Regions from separate parts of the Homo sapiens genome. Here region 1 is linked to region 2. The links are contacts of gene promoters, found by promoter capture Hi-C in human tissues and cell types (Jung and others, 2019). All regions are on one chromosome and are shown on one strand. Each heading gives the region's core, a stretch centred on a gene start or on the middle of the fragment in contact. The rest is flanking DNA. Distances are from core to core; before and after follow the strand shown. Region 1 overlaps CDC42 (cell division cycle 42). Region 2 holds the start of C1QB (complement C1q B chain).

What was found. The method cuts DNA at HindIII sites, captures the fragments that hold promoters and counts their contacts. A contact is called where the count stands out against the background at its distance.
Region 1: a contact is called between a fragment that was not itself captured here and the fragment with the promoter of C1QB in region 2, in 1 of the 25 tissues and cell types used here (ovary).

What each region holds. Positions count from the first base shown.
Region 1 is chr1:22,079,276-22,085,849 of GRCh38, reverse strand. It overlaps CDC42 (cell division cycle 42), which reads right to left. Exons shown (of 6, transcript NM_001791.4): 3 at 4,056-4,128. Among named protein-coding and RNA genes, the nearest start is that of CDC42, 30 kb to the right of the region's middle. The HindIII fragment of the contact is 5,128 bases long and covers 1-3,926 here.
Region 2 is chr1:22,651,071-22,657,277 of GRCh38, reverse strand. It overlaps C1QB (complement C1q B chain), which reads right to left and starts at 4,042. Exons shown (of 3, transcript NM_001378156.1): 1 at 3,975-4,042. The HindIII fragment of the contact is 7,433 bases long and covers 2,480-6,207 here.

The DNA of each region.
Region 1 (6,574 bases), core at 113-2,612, 570 kb after region 2:
AACAATCACAGTGAAATCATCTAAGGAAAGAAAAACCTCACTGAAACCCAGATGACAAAATCCACTGCCCATCATGACTACAAACAGAGGTTCACATATTTAGTTAATGCGTGTATATAAGACCGGTATCTGAAACTGATAAAGCCTAGAAAACAAATTTAGCAAGAATTAATCGATACTCAAAATAATAAAAATACTTAGAATTAACTTAATCAGAGGCAAAAGACTTGGATAACAAAAAAATTCAAAACTGCTGAAAGAAATTAAAGAAGACATAAATAAATGGAAACACATCCCACATTCATGAACTGGAAGACTTAATATTGTTGACATGTCAACATTATCCAAAGCAACCTACAGACTCAATGCAATCCCTATCAAAATCCCAACAAGGGATAGTAATCTTGAAACAAGGGACAATAGACAAAATAATCTTGAAAAAGAATAAAGCTGAAGCACTCCCATTTCCTGATTTCAAAACTTACTACAAGGCTACAATAATCAAAACAGTGCGGTATTGGCATAGGGAGATATATAAGACAATGGAATAGACTAGAGAACCCAGAAATAAACCCTTACATATGTGGGCAAATGATTTTTCTTTTTTTTTTTTTTTTTTAGACAGAGTCTCACTCTATCACCCAGGCTGGAGTGCAGTGGCACAATCTCGGCTCACTGCAACCTCCACCTCCCCAGTTCAAGAGACTCTCCTGCCTCCACCTTCTGAGTAGCTGGGACTATAGGCACACACCACCGCACCAGGCTAATTTTTGTATTTTTAGTAGACACAGGGTTTCACCATGTTGGCCAGGCTGGTCTTAAACTTCTGACCTCAGGTGATCTGCCCACCTCAGCCTCCCAAAGTGCTAAGATTACAGGTGTGAGCCACCGTGCCTAGCCTAGCTCAAATAATTTTTGATAAGGGTGCCAAGACCATTCAGTGGTAAAAGGACTCTTCAATAAATGGTGCTGAGAAAATGACATATTCACAAGCAAAAGACAAAGATGAAACCTTACCTAATACTATATACTAAAATTAACTCAAAATGGATAAAAGGTCTAAATGTTAGACCTAAAACTTTAAAACTCCCAGAAAACATAGGGCAAAAGATTCAGGTGGACTTGGCAATAATTTGTTTGGATATCACACCAAACCACCAAAAAATAGACAAACTTCATGAAGCTGTGAAAATTTTATACATCAGAAAATAGTATCAACAGAATAAAAACGCAACCCACAAAATAGGAAAAAATATATGCAAATCGTGTATGTGATAAGAGATTAATACCCGGAATCTACAAAGAACTCCTAAAACTTACCCCAAAAAAAAAATCCCAATTCAAAAATGGGCAAAGAACTTGATTAAACAGACCTTTCTCCAAAGATATATAAATGGCCATAAGATGCTCAACATCACTAATCATTAAGGAAATACAAATCAAAACCACAATTAGATACCACCTCACACTAATTAGGATGGCTACAATTAAAAAAAAAAAAAAAAAAAAAAAAACAGGAAATAAGTGTCGAACAGAAGAATGTGACTATATCAAACCCCACGTACTGTTGGTAGGAATATAAAATGGGACAGCCACTGTGGAAAACAATACGGAGGTTCCTCAAAAAAATTAAAAACATGATCCAACAATTCCACTTCTGGGTATATACCCCAAAAGAACTGAAAGCAGGGTGTCAACAAGGTATCTGTATACCCATGTTGATAGCAACATTATTCAAAATAGCTAAAACGTGGAAGCAATTCATAGCACCAGTATTAAAACTGGAACCCAAACATCCATCAACTTGTTAATGGATAAACAAAACTGTGATATATTCATAGAACAGAATAACACTCGGCAATCAAAAGAAACAACTACCAATACACACAACATGGACAACTCTCACAAACATTATGCTATGTAAAAATAGTCACACAAAAGACTACATATTGTATGGTTCCATTTATATGAAACCCTAGAAAAGCAAAACAGTAGAAACAAAGAAAGCAGATCAGTGGTTGCCTGGAACCAGGTCAAGGGACAGGGCTGACTGCAAAGGGAACCCAGAAATAAACACTCACATATATGGTCAAATAATTTTTGATAAGGGTGCCAACACCATTCAGTGGTAAAAGAACTCACCACAGAAAATTTGAGGGGTGATAAAAATGTTACACATTTTATTATGGTGGAGGGTCAGCAAAATGCATCACACTGAACACTTAAAACGATTTTTTTTTTTTTAAAGACGGAGTCTCACTCTGTCAGCCAGGCTGGAGGGCAGTGGCAGAATCTCGGCTCACTGCAACCTCCGCCCCCTGGGTTCAAGCAATTTTCCTGTCTCAGCCTCCCAAGTAGCTGGGACTTAACAGGCATACACCACTACACTGGGCTAATTTTTGTATTTTTAGTAGAGATGGGGTTTCACCATACTGGCCAGGCTGGTCTCAAACTCCTGACCTCAGGTGAACTGCCTGTCTCAGCCTCCCAAAGTGCTGCAATTACAGGCGTGAGCCACCGCGCCTGGCCTTAAAATGATTTTTATTGCACTACGCATCAAAAAAGCTTTCAAAAGTACTCGCCAGAAAATGTAAAGGCTTATAAATAATAAACTTTGAAATCTGAAAATACTAATTTTCAACCACAAGTAGCCATAAATTATCTTTTCTCGCCAGGCGCAGTGGTTCACACCTGTAATCCCAGCACTTTGGGAGGCCAAGGCGGGCGGATCACCTGAGGTCAGAAGTTCGAGACCAGCCTGACCAACATGGAGAAACCCTACCTCTACTAAAATACAAAAAAATTAGCCGGGTATGGTGGCGCATGCCTGTAATCCCAGCTACTCAGAAGGCTGAGGCAGAAGAATCGCTTGAACCTGGGAGGCGGAGGTTGCGGTGAGCCGAGATTGCACCATTGCACTCCAGCCTGGGCAACAACAGCAAAACTCCATCTCAACAAAAAAAAAAAATAAAAATTTTCTCTGTGCCTTTGGACACAAATGAACACAGAAGAAAACCCCTCATTTATCATGACATTATGGGTCATTGTTTTCTCTATATTCCAAATTTAATATACCATTACTTTTATGATTTTAATGTATTAAAAATTTCTCTAATCTTTACTGTCTCTCCATTTCACGTTCTCAATTAAATCCAAATAGTTCCTCGTGGTACACAGTGTAACACCACATTCCATGGAAGCAACATGTTAACTTGCAAACAGTAACAGTAACTCAAAGCACAAAGTTTAGAATTCCTACATTCTAAAGATACTCTAAAGGATATCTTTCTGAGATTTTCCTCTGGCTAACTGAGCTGATAATAAGACGGCACATAGAGAAAAGTCAGAAATTAAGATGTGCAGCCACTCTTGAAAACAAGAAATAGCACTGAGGAATTAGGTACATTTAAGGAAGAAAGTAATTTGTTCTTACAATTTGGATAGCTGACAAATGTCAATACTGTGAGCAGATAATAGTTCACTCTCAAAATATTTTCAGATACAGTTTAAAATAAGCTATCTATCGTAAGAAACTAAACATGTTATTAGACACATAAATTGAATATGCCTTCAAATATCAAGAGAGTAATAATAATAAATACTGTAAATGGCTTATGACCTTATAACCTTAGGCATATTTAGGAAACTCTAGGCTTTAAAAAGGAGCAGGTAGGGGTGAAGGGAGAGAATCAGTGGGCATGATTCCTATGAATTCATTCCCTTAGTCCCTCCCCAACCACTAATGCAGTCCCCAGTTCTCTGCAAGGTGCACGCATCAGGATTTTAGTTCAATTTGGAGCTTGTATGATGCACTCTAGTCTCACTCTACTTCATCTACTACACTGTTCACCCAGGGTACTCCAAACTCCTATTTGCCGACCCAGGTCTGGGACTGCTCCTTGGTCAAGCATCGACAATCATTATATTCAATCCTGCTAACTAATAACAAAAGGCAAGTACTTTGCTCATGTGCTAGTTTCTCAAAATGTCCACAAGAGACAGACAACTAGCAACTGTTAAAGATCAAAACAGTATAAAAGACATTAAGTTTTCACCTGCAGTATCAAAAAGTCCAAGAGTATATGGTTCTCCACCAATCATAACTGTGACTGCATAGTTGTCAAAAACCTAAAAACAAAAAAATACAACACTGTTAGTGTGCAAGGAGAGAGTTAAAATGGGACAGGACAACTCTTAAGCTAAGGCAGTGTTTCCTTGCTAAGACTTAATCGTCCCCTAGTCCATCCATCATCCTTATATAACCAATCTTGCCAACCAGTCCTTGCATGAGCTAAATGATTCCTGGAAAAAGACAAAGGATGTGTTCTGAGATTTCTGCTCTACCCCAGCAGCCTGGATAAAGAGCCAGAGAAGGTTTAGAGGTGTCACAGGAGCAGAGTCCTCTAGCTACACAAAATGAACCTGTTCAAGTTTGAAACTTTTCAGACAGTGGTCTACCTCAACATTCAATCTGATTCCTAAGAAACTACTTCTTCATAGACCATTTCCTTTTCATCTAGAAATAAAATATCCTAGATCCATGACCTTTCTTCCTTTCAGAGTCCTAGAAAAGATGAGCCTTGTTATAAACAAGCCCATTTGAGAGAAATAACGGTTCCCTCAAAGTACTCAAAGTGTCCAAGAAAAAGCTGGCAGATTATTTGCTGGGAAGTTTTTTTTTGAGACAGAGTCTCACTGCGTCATCCAGGCTGGAGTGCAATGGCATGGTCTCGGCTCACTGCAACCTCTGCCTCCTGGGATCAAGCGATTCTCCCACCTCAGCCTCCTGAGTAGCTGGGACTACAGGTGCATGCCACCACACCCAGCTAATTTTTGTATTTTTAGTAGAGACAGAGTTTCACTATGTTGGCCAGGCTGGTCTCAAACTCCTGACCTCATGATCCACCTGCCTCGGCCTCCCAAAGTCCTGGAATTACAGGTGTGAGCCACTGCACCCAGCCAGCTGGGAATTTTATGAGTAAAATTCATGTTATTGGGCACAAACTGCATGATCTAAGACATCTTCTTTAACAAGATGCTTAATATGTAAATAGACCATAAAACCCTTATCAAATTCAGTAAAGCATATGCTAATATCGGTTGTACGAAGTTATTTGTGAAAATGGGAGGTTTAACAATGCTAAATGGGAAAAGACCCAACACAAATTCTGGAGTCTTTAGAATTAATTTACAATTGAAAAGCAATGCTTTCATATACAACTATAATCTGTCAATTTACAGTAAAAATTTTAAAATTAAATGATATCTATAAAAAGAAAAGCAAAGCTTTCCAACTAGGAGAAGAATGCCACATTTTAAGACCAGCCCTACTTAACTTTTAGGTACCTACTCTGATTTTCTGACTTATGTTTTAACAGATTGTTCCAGAGCTTATTTAAATGTAAAGAAGAGAAGCAAGGGCATGAGGGAGATGACAGTTAAAGGAAAGTCGGTTCTTAAAAACAGGAACAAAGAAATTGAATGAATGTGGTTAAGCTCTCAAACCAAACAGATTATTTTCTTAAATCACACTTAAGAGACTCAAAAACAACCCTCCTTTACTAGATTGTTCATATCCAAAACTAGACTAAGAATCAGAAAAGCTGGCTTCCATTCCAAAGTCTACTTATGCTAGTGTAATTACGCTAAGTAATTAAACTTAGACTTCTAAGTCTCATCCCTAAATTGGGCCTGAGTACCCTCATCCATTAAGAGATGGGTAAGACAATATATATTGTCCCATCCAGCTCTGAATTTCTATTACTCTAGAAATGGCAAGCCCCAACTCATAGATGGGAACTTAAATGCATTCTACACCAAATCCATTTCCATATTAACTTCAACAGGTACCATGAGAACATTACTTGTGCCTCATGGTCCATTCATTTACCTAAATCGGTTCATTTAAAATTTTATTCTACTACTACTCTTCCTTCCACTCTATCACTTTTCCAGAGATGTACAACACAAACATACATATAAAACACCCACAAGCCCACTTAAAATATAACACCAGAAGATCAAAGTCATAAAAGACTCAGAAATTATGTTTACAAGTAAATAACTTCAATGGAGACTGAAACAGAAAAATTCTGATAGCTGTCCTCACTCTGAAACAAGATTCATGTACCTCTAAATGTCCCCTGTAAGTCCACTGAACCTCAAAACGTCTTCCATTTATCTTGTCTCCAAATGAGCCAATTCAAAATATCAATATGATTTTAGTGTTTAATAATACCTTCAAATTCTCCCCCCTTCAAAAAAAAAACTTTCCTTATTTTTGAGACAGGGTCTCACTACCTTTCACAAATGAGTGTTACTCTAACTCTTGTCTCTCTCTCACTTCAATATTTTTGTTATTCCCATCTTCCTTCTACCATTCCAAAGAGTTGATTTAAAAAACAGTTATGGGGCCAGGCATGGTGGCTCACGCCTGTAATCCCAGCACTTTGGGAGGCTGAGGCAGGTGGATCATTTGAGGTCAGGAGTTCAAGACCAGCCTGGCCAACATGGTAAAACCCCGTTTCTACTAAAAATACAAAAATTAGAAAGGCGTGGTGGCGGGCGCCTGTAA
Region 2 (6,207 bases), core at 2,793-5,292:
TGTATGCTAATGATTGATTGATGGCTGCCAGCCCCTAGGTAGCTTCAGGATGGGGCTCGTCACCAGGAAGACCAAGGCAGGCTTAGAGGGTCTACTCTCAGCCCCACCCCCCAACCTCTGGGGAGGGGAGTGGGGCTGAAGGTTAAATTGATTACCAATGGTCAATGGCTTAATCAATCGTGCCTACATAATAAAGCCTCCATAAAAATCCCAAAGAACTAGGTTTAGAGAGCTTCCAAATAGCTGAACACGAGGAGGTTCCTCGGGGGCAGCATGCCCAGGGACCTGGGCATGACAGTGGCACGCCTCTTCCCTCATACCTCACCCTGAGCATCTCATCTGTATCCTTTATAGTATTGTTTATAATAAACTTGTAAACGTGTTTCCCCGACTTCTGTGGGCCACTCTAGCAAAGAATCCAAACCCAAGCAGGGGGTTGTGAGAACCCCAACTTGAAGCTGATTGGTCAGAAGTTCTGGGGGCCTGGACTTGCAAATGGTGTCTGAGGGGGAGCAGTCTTGTGGGACTGAGCTCTCAGCCTGTGGGGTCTGATGCTATTCCTAGACAGTGTCAGAACTGAGTGGAAAGACACCCAGCAGATTTGATTGCTTGCTTGGTGTGTGGGGAGAAACCCCCCACATTTGGTCACAGAAGTCTTCTGTGTTGATTGTTGTGGTGTGAGAGCAGAGGAAAATACCGTTTGTGTCTTTCCACTTACAGACCTTCCACTTACACACTACAATTTGGTTTTGGGGTTTTTGGTTTTTTTTGAGATGGGGTCTCACTCTGTTGCCCAGGCTGGTCTCGAACTCTGGAGCTCAAGCCATCCTCCTGCCTCAGCCTCCTGAGTAGCTGGGATTACAGGCACGCACCATCTCGCTTGGCTATTTGTTTATCCACTCATCATTGGTGGACATTTGGGAAGTTTCCACCTTTTGGCTATTGTGAAGAGTGCTGCTATGAACATTTGTGAACAAGGATTTGAGTATCTGTTTTTAATTCTTTGGGGTTTATACCCAGGAGAGGAATTACCGCTTATGGCAATTCCATGTTTAAGTTCCTGAGGACCCTTCAGCCTATTCTTAAGTTTCCTCAATGACACCTCTGCCAAGGTCCCCCGTGTGGTGCCTCAACGCACTCCCCTGCTGCACAAACGTTGTGTTCACTCAGCCCTAAGAACTAATCACAACGCTAGCTGCACATCACATTATTTCCTTGGAAGAGTCAAGCTGAACTTTCTCAGCAGAGTGTGAGGAAATGACATCTCTGCCAAGGGCTCTTCCATCCATAGTTTGCACCGTTTCAGTGATGGGCAGCTCATTACCTCTCGAGGCAGCCCATTCCACCTTTGCCCAGATCCAAATGTTTTTTCTTCATTCGAAGCTTGGGTCAAAGCCTTCTTCCTCCAGGAAACCTTTCCTCAGAGGCTGAACTGTATCCTCTCTTAAAATGGGGGAGCAGAGTGGTCTCTGCCTACTTCCCAGAGTGGCCACAGGGACCCAGGTGAGACCATGGATGGGAAAGAGTCATAAAGCCTTGAGCCCCAAGCTCTCATTGGGACTTGTGGCTGCTACTGCTATTGCTGCTGTTCTCTGATCCTCTCAACACCCTGGGGAAGTGGGTTGTGATTAATTTCCCATCTTGCAGATGAGGAAACTGAGGATCGGAACTTAGAAAGCAACCTACCCAAAAATCACCCAGCAAACTATTCTAACAGCAGGGTTGTGGCCAAACTCCTACCCTCTCTGCCACATGCTGGCTGTCCCAACCCCAGAGTCTGGCATGTGGAGGGCTCCCTGGGACCAGACAAGGCCTACTGATATTTGGCTCCTATGCTCTGCAAACCAGCCTCAGCCCCTCAGCCTAGTCCTGATCAATTTCTTGCTGAAAGCCCTGAGTTATGCCAGACACTGTGCACCAAGGAAAGGAAGCTGTAAAGATGAGTGTGGCCAGGGAATGCTGGTGACAGCTTTAGGTTCTGTCAGGCTCTATGCTCTGAAGACAGGGTGGCTCAGGGGCATGGTCCTGCTTATCCATGAATAAGCATCAGCTCTCACTCTTGCTCTTGCTAAAGGTTTTACAAAATGGCAATTTAACAACTTTAATAAGTTGGGTACGTATAGGCCAGGCTCTGAGCCAGATGGCTTGCATGCCATTATCCCCTGTAATTTGATATTCAGCCCCTGAGAATGCACTCTTGCTTTCTTATTTTACAGATGAGGCAACGGGATCAGAGAGGGCAAGCACCTTGATAAAAGTCACACAGCTCCTGTGTGGCTGGGAGTCAAACCCACATCCACTGGATCTTAAAACTCAATGTTATGTTAAGAGGCCACTGTACCTGGTGGTAAAAACATAAACTTTGAAGCCAGACAGCCTGATAAAAGGACTAATGCATGGGACACACCAAGGGTAGTGGTAGGCACATGGTCAGTGTTCGGTGAAAGTGGCTTTTTACCACCACGATGATTGCTGCTCTTGTTAGGCAGCACACATTCACCTGGTGGCGGGAGCCTGTAGTGTCACAAGGAAAGCAACACTCAGCGTTCACATAAGGTCTCTACTGCTTCTTAGCTAAGGGACTTGGGAAATCACTCCTTCTCTCTGGCCACAGTTTACCCTCCTATAAAGTGGGGATAATGCTACTCTCTCCCTCATAGGGTATGTGCGAGGACATGAGTTACAGCTTCCAACAGAGCCTGGCATGTTGGAAATTCTTAATGAATATTAGCTATTTTATTATTATCACTGTCATCCAAGAATTCCTGAGTGGTTGAACAGAAGGGAAGATGGTTGGAGAAGTAAAAAAAGACAATCCCTTTGAAAGACTGTGTTTAGAGGGAGGGGCTCTGTCAGTTGGAGGCAGCAAGGGGTGGAGAGCTGTGACCAGTTGGTGGGGAGAGAGGGTGGGGAGCAGGGTACTGACAGGACTTGGGCTTCCTGGGGAAGCCAGGGGCAGGGGGAGTGGGAAAGTGCTGGTTCTAGCCCATTTCAAAAGCCACCGAGTTTCAGCCTTGGGTTAGGGCTTACAACTCATCTGGTTTAACTGCCTCCTGCCTGTGCCAGCCCATCATCATTGCCAGCGCGGTTTCTCCTGTCCTCCCCCCAGGCTCTGACCTTTCCATCTCCTTCGGTCCAGCAGTCCCTTTCCGCAACATGGAGTCAGGCCCACTTGACTTTAAAGCCCCATCTGCTACCGGCTGCATAACCTCAGGCAAGTGCCTTAACCTCTCTGAGCCTCTTGGCAATGCTGATTTCAACCTGACAGGGCTGCCAGAAGGATGACAGGAGAAGGCGCTTAGAAGAAATAAGGTCCCCCCTGCCCCGTGCAGTGCCACATCCCACTCCCCAGCTGCACAAACATTGCGCTCACTCAGTACTAGCTGAGAACTCATCGTAACTCTACCTGCACATCCCCTTATTTCTTTGGAAGAGTCAAGCTGAGCTTTCTCAGCGAGTATGAGGAAATAAGCAAGGTGTTGGGGAAATGCTGGGCCGGGCAGGAGCGACTGGCTTATAATCCCACTCCTGCCTCTGGTTTACTGATAAATTTTGAGCCAGGGCATGCACTAAGCTTTTGCAAGCTTGATCTCCTGTAAGGCACAGCAGTGCTGAAAGATTCTGTTCTCTGTAGGGGGGCCGGGCTGAGAGAGGTTAGGTGACTTGCCCAAGATAACCAATACATAAGGTGCAGAGCCAGACTCAGCTCAAGTCTCTGCGATGCCAAAGCTCCTATGTGCCAGGCTCCCGCTTTAGGTGGCCTGCCCATCCGCTAGGCCCTGGGTAGCAGCAGACTCCCCAACTCACCCCAGAGATCTGGGTCCCATAGGTCTGGGATTGGGCCCAGCTACCTGCACTGTTAAACAGCCTAACTGGCTCCGAGGCAGGTGACGCAAAGCTCACACTTACGGAATCACCACTTTCTGCCATATTGGCCCTGCCAGCCTCCCCCAGGCGCCAAGCCCCGTCCTCACCTGGGAAGCTGGTGTCCTGTGAGGCCACTGGGCTGAGCAGCAGTGGGACCAGGAGCCGAGAGCCTACTGCCCTCGGTCCGAAGCGGAAGTTCCCTTCCCCAGAGGCGGGAAGGGCTTTCCCCTGACGGTCCCCTCCCATGGACCAGCAGGCTGGCCCCTTTCCCGTCCCCTCACTGTCCCCCCACCCTGCTGCCCTCAGGCAGTTTCAGGTCCTATTTCTGCAACCCACTGGATTTACTGTAAATGAGACGGGTGGGTGGCAAGTTTGGTTCTGCCAACTCAGCAGCTGTGGGGAGAACACGCTGTCCTGGGGGAACATCCACAGCTCACCCTCCCAGGCTCTCTGACCTCGTGATCTTCTTCTACACTGGGCAGGGGTGTTCCTCAGTGAGCATCATGTGGCGGGCCCGCTGCCTGAGTGCTGGCTTACAGTCAGAGCCTTTGATTCCAATCCCGCCTCTGCCACTTGCCAGTTGATGTGTTGTCAGTCAAGGGAGCCCCAATTTTCTCTGCTATAGGATGGGACCATAATTGTACCTGCTCTACAGATACAGATCTCACAGGCCACTGGGAGGATAATGGAGGAAATGATGGGGGAGGAAGTGTCTGGGGGTAAACTGTAAAGGGCTGTGCACGTGTTCATTGTTAATATCACTTCATGTCCCAGGCTTCCCCTTTCTGGGCTCATCTCTTCTGCTTCCTTCCCATTCTGTGCCCCTGCTCTTTCCCTGTTCTCAGAAAATAATCTCATAATGAATTTTAAATGTGTTCATTATTTATTGATACCCCTCCCTCTGCTTCCAGCAGGGCTGGACGCTGATGACAATAATAGGCCCAGGCAGGGGCCTGTTGCTTCTTCTCGATCCTGGAATCACGCCAAGTTAGGGCCGGAGAGGGGCTGAGGTTACTCGGCCCATCCTCCTCATTTTATATACGAGGAAACTGAGGCCCAGAGGGGAGACCCACCATTTAACAAATATTTAGTGTTTGCTTCCATGTGCACTGAAGAGAGAGCTCTTAGCAAATCAGCCATGGTCCCTGCCCCCATGGGGCCTCCCTTCTACGGGGGGAGACTGGTGTTAAACACGGAATGACATGAGGCTTCATTGCTTCTGTGATAAATGTCACAGAAAGACGTGACTGCTGGGGCCGATGCCTCATGGAGGTGGCAGATGCAGACCTGGAAGCCGGCATCCCTGGCACTAGGATATCAGTCTCTCCCTGTGGCTGCGTCTCAGACGACATGATGACTAGCAAGCACCAGGAGCTGGAGGCCCTCTTGACATCTGTGCTTGGAGATGGAAATTCACTGGGCTTGTGGATGCAGCTTGGTGGAAATTAAGTGTTAACTGCAATGGGTGAACAGGAGGGAAAGATAAGTTTGATAAAACCAAAAGGTCTCTGAGCTCAGTCAACTATAGTCCCGAAGGGACCCAGGCTAGGGTGAAGAGAAGAAACACTGGATTCCACAAAGGGAGAAACGAGTTAGTAGGTTGCAAGTTGAGGGCTTCTGAGCATTCCCAAAGCCGAGTGGCTCTGGGCCTCTAGTTCTTTTTTTTTTTTTTTTTCTTGAGATGGAGTCTCAGTCTGTTGCTCAGGCTGGAGTGCAGTGGTGCGACCTCAGCTCACTAGAACCTCTTCCTCCCAAGTTCAAGCGATTCTCCTGCCTCAGCCTCCCAGGTAGCTGGGACTACAGGTGCATGCCACCAAGCCCAGCTAATTTTTGTATTTTTTTTTAGTAGATACAGGGTTTCACCATGTTGGCCAGGCCGGTCTCAAACTCCTGACCTCAAGTTGATCTGCCTGCCTCGGCCTCCCAAAGTGCTGGGATTACAGGCGTGAGCCACCATGCCCAGCCTCTGGGCCTCTAATTCTTAGGTGGCTAAGGGCAATGGGAAAAGATGGATGTCAATTTGGGGTAGAAGCAGTGAGGCTAAGAACAGGAAGCAGCAGAGGTGGGTTAGGAGCACGGACTTTGGCAGTTTGAATCCCAGCTCTTCGTCTTGCTAACTATGTGGCCACGGGAATGTTTACTGGCCTCAGTTTCCTCGTGTAGAAATGGGAAGCATGAACGCCTATCTCCTGGGGCTGTTTTGGGGGCCAGCGAGGTCCCCCTGCCATGTCCAGGGCCAGGTGAGTGCCCAGCCCTTGGTGGGCACCCACTGCAAACATGGGAACGGTATTACTTATATGAAGAGAAGATGGAATTCTTGGAACCCAGGAGCAAAGAAGC